Regions from separate parts of the Homo sapiens genome. Here region 2 is linked to region 1. Evidence: promoter capture Hi-C in human tissues and cell types (Jung and others, 2019). All regions are on one chromosome and are shown on one strand. Each heading gives the region's core, a stretch centred on a gene start or on the middle of the fragment in contact. The rest is flanking DNA. Distances are from core to core; before and after follow the strand shown. Region 1 holds the start of RSPO2 (R-spondin 2). Region 2 has its middle 80 kb from the start of RSPO2.

Evidence for each region. The method cuts DNA at HindIII sites, captures the fragments that hold promoters and counts their contacts. A contact is called where the count stands out against the background at its distance.
Region 2: a fragment that was not itself captured here is called in contact with the fragment with the promoter of RSPO2 in region 1 in 2 of the 25 tissues and cell types used here (IMR-90 fibroblasts and pancreas).

The regions. Positions count from the first base shown.
Region 1 is chr8:108,081,206-108,086,508 of GRCh38, forward strand. It overlaps RSPO2 (R-spondin 2), which reads right to left and starts at 2,415. Exons shown (of 6, transcript NM_178565.5): 1 at 1,992-2,415; 2 at 1,340-1,602. The coding sequence starts at 1,433. RefSeq lists silencers at 436-730, 1,271-1,446 and an enhancer at 608-1,554. The HindIII fragment of the contact is 6,606 bases long and covers 1-5,303 here.
Region 2 is chr8:108,160,766-108,166,660 of GRCh38, forward strand. No RefSeq gene overlaps it. Among named protein-coding and RNA genes, the nearest start is that of RSPO2, 80 kb to the left of the region's middle. The HindIII fragment of the contact is 6,641 bases long and covers 1-5,089 here.

The DNA of each region.
Region 1 (5,303 bases), core at 1,165-3,664:
GTTATTTGGAGCTCTGCGCTCAGGTGGGCCAATCTCTAGCTCTGCCCCTAGGTGAGAACAGCTTAACAATGTCCTAAAAAGCCATCAAAAAAATAAGGTTCGGAAAGTCCTCCTCAAAATCTGGATGCAGGAGCGGAGATTACACACAATGAGTTATAAACAAATCACATCACAGATCGAGTGAGATGTTTACATCTTGGAGAAAAAGTCAACATTCATGAACCCGGCGACAAATTCTAATTGCGCAAAAGTCCAAAGTGCCGAATGAAATAGACAGCTCTCACCAGGTCCCTGGGAAGGGGCTGCTGCGCGCCCTTCCTGCGCGGGTAATTCGATGTGCGTGTGGTGAGTGGTTTATGTTTAAATCCACCCAGAAAATTGAATCGTGTCTAGCCGCCCTTCTTCTAAAATGCAGTTGGATTAGTTGCATCTCCAGCGGACTCCGAGACAGAAATACGCACTAAATCTGCAGGAAAGCGAGTTCCCCGAAACCTTTCTGGAGGCTTCCACCCGCCTTCTCCGCTACGCACAAGTGATGGAGAGGGAGGGAGCAGTTAAAAAGCCGCAAGTGAATTTCATTGAGAACAGAAGCCTCCACCGGTGTGGCTGCTTTTGCAAAGCAAATGGAGAGAGCGAAGTGGGGCCTGTTTTAAAAACAAACCTCTGGAGGCGAGGACTCCCCAGAAAACCAGCGCGGGAATTGCTGCTTAATTCAGAAAGTTCCCATCTCGTCGCAGTTTCCAGAAAAAAGAGATCTATGTTGGCCTTTTTCTGGAAAGGGAGGTCCTCCCCCTCGACTTGGTACCCCTCCCAAGCTCCGGAATACAGACACACGCTTGGGTACACCCACACACCACACACACACTATGCTAGGTCAAGTCCGAAGAGATCTGAGGCCGGGTTTGGGGCGCACGTGGATGGGGAAGATAAAACAAATGAGCTACAGGGAAGATGGTTAGGAGGACAGAGAGAAGAACAACGACGACAAAAAAAAAATGCATGTCAGATAAGAAATACGTCCTAAAGAGACAAGTTTAGATGAGGAGGTGGGGCGGCGAACATGAGTGCGGACCGCACGACTTAGCCCTGAGCGCCCGATTGGCGCCCGGCTCGCCGAGCTCCCAGCGCGTCTCGCTCCGGCTCCCCGCGCCTCCAGGGTACAGAAAACAGAGTGTTTTGTAGAGCTCCAGGGTCCTAAAGGTGGGGACTGGGGACCCGCAAAAGCTGGGGTGGAGAGCACAGCCCTGACCATCTGAGCCCCCGGAGCCAGGGCGTGAGTGAGCGCCTCCACACGCCACCCCTGAAGCCCACCACGCACCTTTGGCAGAGAGGGACCCACCTCGCTTACTGCGTCTCCATCGGTTGCCTTGGCAGTGGCTGTAATCCATGCAGTTCAGAATGATGAGGGCAAAGGAGAAAAGGCGAAACTGCATCTGGGCGGTCGGGCGGGGGAGAGACGCCTCTCAAAGTCTAGGAACTGGAGGGTTCGCCCAAAGAGCCGGCGCCGGCCGCGCTGCTGGGGAGGACTCAGAGGGAGACTCGCCACTCACCCCCGGGCCGCACCGGTCAGTTCAGCGCGATCAGCATCTCTCCGCCACGAACCTGAGAGACAAGAAGCGAAAACAGGGTGTGTGGGGGATGGAGAGAGCCCCGGGGAGGCAGCTGCGCCTTCGCACGTCCCAATTTAAAGAAGAGAGGGAAGGAGGAAGCGAACCCACTGCCTAGCACGAGCCGCGGAGCGGCTTAATCCAGAGCGGGCAGCTGCGGACGAGTTGGAGAGGAAGGTGATTATAATCAGTGAATTAGCAACCTCTGCCGAGCCCTAAGCTCCGACCCAGCGGCATAATGCGTTGTGCCGGCGCTCCGGGGAAAGGAAAGAACTCTAAAGGCACTGAGAGCGCAGGGCTAAAAGAACGCTCTTAGGCCATTTGGAGTCCACGGCGGTGTACCCAAGCGCCGCAGCTGCGGCTGCCTTGGTGTGGGTTGCCTACCGTGCGCACGTCTCGGGCGGCGCGGCCTCCCTAGGCGCGGTGCTCCATCCCGGGCTCGGGAAGCGAGCCGCTTGGTTAGCACGTGGGCTGGGGAAAAGTTTGCCGAGACCGGCTGGGAGCGCCTGGCAGCTCTGGAATTCCAGCGGCCGCCGCGGGGTTGGCGACGCCAGGCAGGAGCGCGGAGCGGCGGGTGCAGCCACTGGGATGCTCCGTCCCCGCCCGCGAGCGCGGTCCCCAGGCAAGGGGTGCGCCCGCTCACACTCTCTGCCTCCCTAACCAATTGTGTCGCTTCCTGCGCTTTCTCCACGGTCACTTCACAGCTAAGATTTCTTTCTTTCCGAGCTGTAGAAGGCAGAACGCTCTCGGGAGGACGAAGTGATCCGAAGGGATGTGGCAAGCGCACTTTCCGATGGAGATGCAGACCGGCTGAGGCTTGGGATGCTTCTATAAGTAGGTGGTGCTGTGGTCCAAGGCATCTAAGTCTAGGCTGCCTCGGAGTTCCTGGGTCCTAAAGCCAGAAACGTCCCGGTTTCCCTGAGGTCCTAAAGAACGTTGACAGCCAACAGCGCGCCTAACTTGGAGCGAATCCTCTTCGGGCTTTCCAGAGTGCGGGGGATAGATAAAGAGTAGCTGGGGAGACGCCCCCTGACCTTGCTGGGTCCCAGAACCCGGCTGCTCACCCCCAAGGGGTCCTCTCCAGCCCTCTAGGGTCAGTTCCAACCTCAGCGCCAACCTTTCTGCAGGGAGATCTGACTGAAGGACTGATGACTCCCTTTAAACTTTTGCAATATGCCACAACTCTGCCACTTTTTAATTTACATCTTGTCTGTGTTTTGCAGGAAGGTATGTTAGCCGGCTGAAATTATTCATAAAACGCGCCCCCACTTTGAGGAGTGAAATGGGTATTCCCAACAGCTTTTGTTCATCCTCAGAACTGTTATTTACTTTGTTTCTTCTCCAATAAAACAAAAACCTGTGATCCGTTGCCTGAAGTGCTGAAGAAGTTGGGGCCTTGATTCTTTAAAAATAATTTTAAAAAGTTCACTTCCCACTAAAGTATTTTTCATTCTTAATCCTCCTCTCATTTCCAAAGTCTCCTGAATTAAACTTTTAGGTGCTTTGGGTTTGGGGAAAATATTCTGTTTAACAAAGTGTTACATTAAATAGACTTGATGCCATCCAATTTCATTCTGGTGAAATCTGTCCTGCATTCACTACTGTAGGAAAAAATGTATTTATTCCTTAAGCAAAAGATAAGAATTTATGCCACTAACCGTGGCAGTATGAATGTCTATAGATATGCCCGCAGTTACCATATTATTATGATAGCATTTTATACTATTTAAATTCCCTTTTCTATTCCTTCAGTTTCAGAAGATGTTCAGAAATTTGATGACTTAAAAGACAATCATATAAAAAGAATATTGCAATACTCATATTTATTAACTATTCCATTATTGCCTATTCATAACTATTTTACAGACTCACTATTACATAGTGGTATTTATGTGCTAAGAATTTCAGCAGTATGCCTTTGATGCATGCCTGAGAACACCCAAGTAAATCTGAGTTGAGGTCATTGGTCCCATTTCATAGATAAGAAAATCCATCACTGAGACTGGCCCACAGGGCACAAATAGAGTTCACAAAACACATTGCAGAAACAGTGGATCTGTTTCTTGACTTTTGAGCCTTTGATTTTTATCACAGAATTTGGAAACATTTCAGTGTAGGGAGTGGCCCCAGTGTTTGGCATAACTTGATATTTCTTGATCATCTTGATATGATGCTGAATATCTCTTCAGCACCATAAATACTACTTCTTTCCAAATATAGTCATATATGCACACAACAAATGAATTATACTTATAAAGGAGTTAAATCTATGGGAGAAAGGAAGTCTTCCCTAAGTAAGCCCCCCTGCCTCCTTGCAAAGCTTTGAGATCCATTCAAGATCAGTGGTCATCAGTGTCTTTTAAAATATTTAAAGGCAAAAGTAAACACAAGACCAAGCAGAGGTAGCGCTACCATTAATCACCTGCGTCACTTTGGGCAATTTTCTTGGTCTCAGTTTCCTTGGCAGTATTTTTAGGAAGTCTGTCCAAGGTCTCTTTCACTTCTACATGTTCTGGTTTACAATCAATTTTCTATTTGTACTAGGAAGTTTGCTATGGTATCTAACCAGTGTAAGGGCAAACTCATCAGTGATGGGTTCTTTGTGTAGAAAGAAGAGGGTTAGCCACTGCCTTCCTTAGTTAAATTTACAGACCACTTCACCCTTATCCCTTCAAAGACAACTTTCCATAATTTTAATTTTAATCTTTTGTGTTGTACAGTTGGTGCATTTTTAGCCAGAGATGCTTTTCAGTTTAGTGAACCCCCAGATTCAGTTCATGAGGAAGAATTTTGACAGTACCACTTCTGTAGAAAATTGGTTAATGTGTTTAGTAAGAAAAGAATAGGCTCTGGAAGAAAGGAAAATTCTTAATTCCTTCTTTTGCTCCCTCCTGGTCTATCTCTGCCTCTTAAAAGACACCAGTGAACCTTAAAACTCTGTCAGACTTAGTTCTTGGGGTACTTGGAGTCTCACACTTAATCACTTTGGGGCTAATTTGTTGATAATGCAGAATTTTTTTTTTTTACATTCACTGAATATTTTTCCTGACTTCAAAATCCCAGGAATGTTCTTGCTACTAAAAAATACAACCCTAATGGATCCTAGACTATCATTAACTTTAATCCCATATCTCTGCTTCCTTTCATTTCTAAACTCAGAATGTGGTGTTGTTGAGGCTCACAGCTCACAGTTTCTCCATCTTGGAGACTCAATGGACTTTTTCTTCAAACTGAGTTTATATAGTGGTTTCATTAAACTGGCTTTGTAAATAGACTTGTGCCTGGGTTCTGTTTACAGAGAAGTATACTGATATACTGAGGAGGTTGACTCTATACCACTCATTGGTGATAGGGAAAGTTAACTGAGGGCAGAAGTGGGGGATGATGTTATAGAGAGGAGATAACTTCTGTATTTTATTTTTTGACTTGTAATTCGTTCATACAGCTCAAAATTCAATCCTTACAAAACACCATAACAGGGCAAAGTCTCTCCTACCTCCTTCTCTCAGGCATCCAGTTCTCCTTAGAGTCAATCAGTTATTCTTTTACAAGTGTTCACGGTTTTTGGTATACTTCAGAAGATGTTTGGTGCTTATCAAACAAGTAACTTGATAATCTTTTTGCTTATCAAGCAAGGAAAGAAGGAAGAATGTATTATATATATGTACATGCACATATATAGGCATACATATAATA
Region 2 (5,895 bases), core at 519-3,018, 79 kb after region 1:
GTAGAAAGGAAGGATGGGGATATACAGAAGACTAGAGAAAATACCAATGGGGTAGCCAATCTGGCCAGGGAAGGCTTCCCTGAGGAAGTCACAGCTAGTCAGTCCCCTGGAGGATAAAATGAAAACCACTTGCAAGCCCAGGTTTCTGGCATTGGAGTAAGTCAGGGGCTGCAAACCAGTTGACTACAGAGAAGATCAGGCTGTCGGCCTGCTTTGTGTGGTTCCTACAATGTTTTACAAAAACCTAGTTCCAAGGTAGTCTTTTTTTTAATCAAGATATTTTTACCTAATAGTTGGATTTCTGGCCTCTTTGGAAAAATAAGAAATTTAGCAAGACTGGATCAACATCCAGTGGATTACAACTGGATTACAACCATCAACAAGACATGAGTAGCTGCTGACCCGTTTTCTAGTTCACATCATCCACATCACTCTCAACTCTTGTCCTGCACTGAGACGCAGTGTTACAAGCCACATGTTTTCATGCATGCATGCTGTGACTTATAGTAGAAACACTTCCTATCAAAATGAGAAAACAAGAGGACTGGGTGGCCATTTTCATTCAACCCATTTTACTCATTGAGGTCACTTTAGGAATTTGACTTGGTAATGTCCATCATAGGTTCTCTCTGTCTCTCTCTCTCTCTCTCTCTCTCTCTCTATATATATATATATATATATATACATATATATATATATATATTTTTAGAGACAGGTCTCACTGTGTTGCCCAGGCTGGAGTGCAGTGGCGCTGTCACAGCTCACTGAAGCCTCAGCCTCCAAGGCTGAAGCGATCCTCTCACCTCAGCCTCCCAAGTAGGTGGGACCAGGTGTGAACCACCAAATCCGGGTAATTTTTTTTTTGTAGTGCCAGGGTCTCACTATATTGCCCAGGTTGGTCTCAAATTCCTGGGCTCAAGTAATCCTCCCACCTCAGCCTTCCAAAGTGCCCAGATTACAGGTGTCAGCCACCATGCCTGGCCAAAACAATGGTCTCTACATTTCAAAATTACAGGGCATTTTTGCAGAAGAGCTATAGTTCAGAACCCTTGTGGCATCTCTGTCTCCTAACCACCCCCCTCATAGTGTTTCTAAAGTCAAATACTTTTCTCAACATAATTGACCTGGCTGATCTTTTGTCAATGTAGAGGCCTCCAGTTGGAAGTGCCATTCTCTAAGCCTTATCCTATATTTCATTCAGCCCATGTACCTGAAAGCCATGGGGTGGTAAAACAATTCAATGAAGTGCAGGAAGAAAATGTTAGCACTTCTTTTTATGTTTATTTTTACCTGATAAAAAGAAATAAATTAAGATTTATAAACATTTAATATTTAGCTTGATGTGATTTCTTTACTCCTTCCATGTGCCAGGCTGATACAGATCTAGGTATCCTCACTAACTTCTTCAACTTCAGTACATTATGATATATTGCAGTTTACATTTGTCAAGTTGGTGAAATGATTGCACAAAGTTCAATAACAATTTAGTGGCAAAAATGGGACCATAATCAATGCCTCAGATGACTATAACCAAATACACTGTGTTGAGTCTTTCCAGTCTGGGGATCCACTACCACTTTCTTCCAGTTCTTTCAAGGGTTGTATCTCTTTTTCCCTTAGGAAGCTGTCATACCTTTGTTCTTCCCAGTAAACAGCCTCACCTTCCAGTCTTTCACTAGTTAAGAAAGACTTTCCCTAAATATAGCAATCCCTCTGGGATCTGGCCTTCCACCTCTCTGACCAGCTTGGATAAAGCTCCCTGTAAAGTCCTCTCCTTTCTTTTCTTAAGAAAGTAGCTATTACCTCTCATTTTTGCTTTTAGTTCAGACAGAACTGAGTTGGCCTCCTAGCTTCACTATGTGTTCTTGGTCAAGTTATTTAACCTCACAAAGCCTCCGCTTTCTTATCTAAAAACTAACAATTTTGAAAGATGGTTGAGGGGTTATGTAAAGTATCTAGCACTTTACATACTACAACAACAACAACAACAAAATAAGTATCACAACAAGGCAAGACTTATCTGCTATGGTATTCTGATGTTCCTTTTATTTAATCTTGGACATTTACCTTGTTCCCAGAATAATTATTAGAGAGAGAGAGAGACAGGTTTTAATTGAACCCAAATAACACAAAAATACTTTCAAATATCCAGCTTTTACATGGTTGGCCATTAAAACATAATAAAGAGCTCAGAATGAATCTTTTTATTGCTCATTAGATTGTAAAAGCATTCACATACAATATTAAACTTTTTGCTTCTAGTTCCCACCTGCTCAGCTTGCATCTTATTTCCTTGACAACAAGTTTAAAAGAAAGACAGCAATGAGAAATGGAATGTCTGGGGCAGATTTTTGGACACAGGAGATAAACTCCAAGTGTCTAAATTTGCACATATATCAGCCTGTGGTCTCGTTCTGATCTTCATAGTAAAAGTACATTCCTTTGTTTTATCCTCACTCAATCTCTTCTTCCATTTCCCCACTGAGGACTGATCAGACTCTACTTCAGCCATAGCCTCGATAGCGAAATGAATTCCATCGTCCTTTTCAGTGAGGTGTCATTTGTCAACTGAAATAAGGGCCTCAATTGTAAGGGGGAAGCCCTTAATATCGATAGACAACCTCCGGCTATCAACGCCTCACTCTTACCCTGCACCGGACACCCCCGCCCGGCTAGCTAGGTGTCAGAGGTAACATTCCTCTCGGAGGATTCAATACCCTCCGTGGTGACCCCTTGACTCTGTTTGATGACTTTCATTACTTATCTCTGGATTTTGAGGAAGGTGAGATTCTTAAGCTTAGTGGGGGTGATGGAGGGAGCAACCAATTGGATGCTGCTCAGCGCTAAAAAAGAAATGGATTGAGGATCACCTTATTTGTTTTAATGCCTGCTACTCCACAACATACTGTACCCTCTGGTTGGGTTTGCTGACTTTCTGGACCTCATTCACACTTACTTTTAAGTGATTTTTACTTGTTAAAATAACAGTTGTAAAGCAAATGCTCAAGTTCACACACAGGCAGACACACACACACACACACACACACACTATGAAATGATAGAACATTGTTAGTATCTTAGAAACTCATTCTTTGCCCTTCTCTTCCCTTCTCTTCCCCAGATGTAACCACTGTCCTAACTTTTGTGATAATCATTGTTAATAGTTTTATCATTTACATATGTTATTCCTTAACAATGTAGTTTAATTTTGCCTTAGAATTTTATAGAAATGGAATATCAGTTTTCTCTTGTGATTTGTGCATTTCACTCCATATTCTGTTTATGAGATTTTTCACATTGATATGTAGGTACAATTAGTTAATTTTCTCTGCTATATAGTGATACATTATATTACTTTACAATCTTGCAATTTTTTGTGTCTATCTTACTGCCGGTGAATACGTTTTTCTCCATATGCACTTTGCTCCACTTGTCCCAGTCTAGGAAACTTTCCCTTATTTCCCCCAAGTATTCAGTTCTCCCAAAGTATTGACTATTGTTCTTCCTGATTATTCCTGACTAGTTCACAGTCCATTTTCTGAATTACTAATGCATACATTGATTAATCAGTCAAATACTTTGAGTATTTAGTACTACAAATTTAGACTCAATACTACATAGTTTAATATTCAGTATAGCTCACAAATCTTTTCTTTTACCAACACTGTCAGTATAATAGTGCTCAATTAGTACTTGTTAATCTTTGGTTGAGAATAATAACAATAACAACAATGATAATAATAATAGTAGCAGTAATAGCTAACACTTATTGAGTACTTAGCTACATGCCAGGCACTATCTAGAGCTTTAGAAGTATTAATTTATTTAATCCTCACAAAGATATTATGAAATAGGTACTACTACACTTATTCTCAGTTTACAGATAAGAAAACTAAGGCCAGAGAAATTATATAATATGCTCAAAGTTATACAGCTAGTAAATGCTAAAATGGAAGGGATGATAGAAACTTAAATATGGTCAACTTCATTATTCCACAGTGATTTAGAAAGGTATAATTATAAATAATAACAGCCAATACTAACAAGTATTTCTTGTTCTGTATTCTCACTAGGCCAAATACTGAATTCAGTCTATTATGTGATCTTCTTAATTCTCACCACAATTTATTATGATGGGTGTTATTTTTCCAATTTAAAAGTGAGGAAAATGAGGATCATTGAGGTTGAGAAATTTTCCTAAATAGCTGGTAAGTGACATGCTGGGATTTGAACCTAAATACTGTATCTCTGATCCTAACATCTGTGCCCTGCTGTAATACCATGCTGCCTCTCTGTAGATTTCACCAGCCCTGTGATGTTGGCACTTTTCCTTGTTAAATCCTAATTTCTTTTCTTTTCTTTATTACTTTTCATTACAGGATGTGATGGGAAATGAAAGTTAAGAAGTCCGATTTTCCAACTTGCAATGATGTTCAGAAAAGAAAGGTCATCGCTGGTTGAAGTGACGGTACTGGATGAGCCATGGGAATTTTGTATCCATACTATTCTGCTCTCTGTGTCACCATAAGTGACTGGATGTAGTATAGGAAGAAAAATAGAATGTGGCTAACAGCCCTATTGAGAAAAACTCACTGGCAAATATCAAGACATTCTCTTCTCCCATCAGTCCTTCAGATGACTCACTTCTTCCTTGTTTCCTGAGAATAGAAGTTACCAATTAGATCTCTGTTCTCTCTGCTACATCCATTGCTGTAAGTAGTGAAAGTGAAACAATACTTTTAGAACCATTGTGTAGTAAGTACAATTACAATCACAAATCAATATTATTTTATAGTTTATAATTAATTAATAATTAAAATCTTATACTTTTAGTAAGAATTATCAAATGCAGCTAAATCTTAGCCCCCAAAATGGCACTTGGTTTTTGTTTTGTTGCTTATATTACGCAAAATAATTTGTAAACTGAGAGAATAGAAGTGCCATTTGACAAGCTCCTTTATGAATCATCTGTGGAGAAGTTTAAAAGTTAATATGAAAAAAAAAGTCTACACAAAAATGAACAGAGGATGGTACAAGTTTAAAAATCCAGAGACGTAGATGGATTTTTTTTCTATTTAATTTCTAAACAGTAAAAATTACTCTTTTTGGTGGACAGTTCTATGGGTTTTGACAAAAGCATGGGGTTGTTTCACCACCAGCATGAACAATATACGAAATGGTTTCATCAACCCCACCCTCACCCCAAATCCCTTGAGTTACACTTCTGGGCTCCTGGCTGCCACTGGTCTGTTCTCATTTCCTATAATTTCGCTTCTCCAGAATATCATATAGATGGAATTGCATGAAATACCATGTTTTGAATCTGGCTTAATCTCAACATGATGAATTTGAGATTAATTCATGTTGATGTGTGTATCAGTAGTTAATCTTTATTGATGAGAAAAATTGGTATATGCTACATTGTATGGGATGTACCATAGCTTGTTTATCCATTCTCCAGGTGAGGGACATTTGCATTACTTGCAGTTTTTGGTGAGTAGGAATAAAGTTGCTAAGATATTCACAAACAGCTTTTTATGTAAACATAGGTGTTTATGTCACTTAGTTAAATGACTGAGTGGGATGATGGATTTTAATGTATAAATGTATGTATGTTTAATTTTATAAATAACTGCTAAACTGTTTTCCCAGGATACTAGTTTGCATTCTCACTAGCCATCTGTAAGAGGTCCAGTTGCTCCACACCTTCCTGTGCACATGGAATGGCCAGTCTTTGATTTCAGCCATTCTGATCTATGAGTGGTGATGCCATATTGCAGTTCTAATTTTCATAGCCCTAATGATCAATGGTGTTGAACATATTTTCATGTGTTTATTTGTCATCTGTATACCTTCTTTGATGAACCATTTGTTCAAATCTTTTGCCCATTTTAA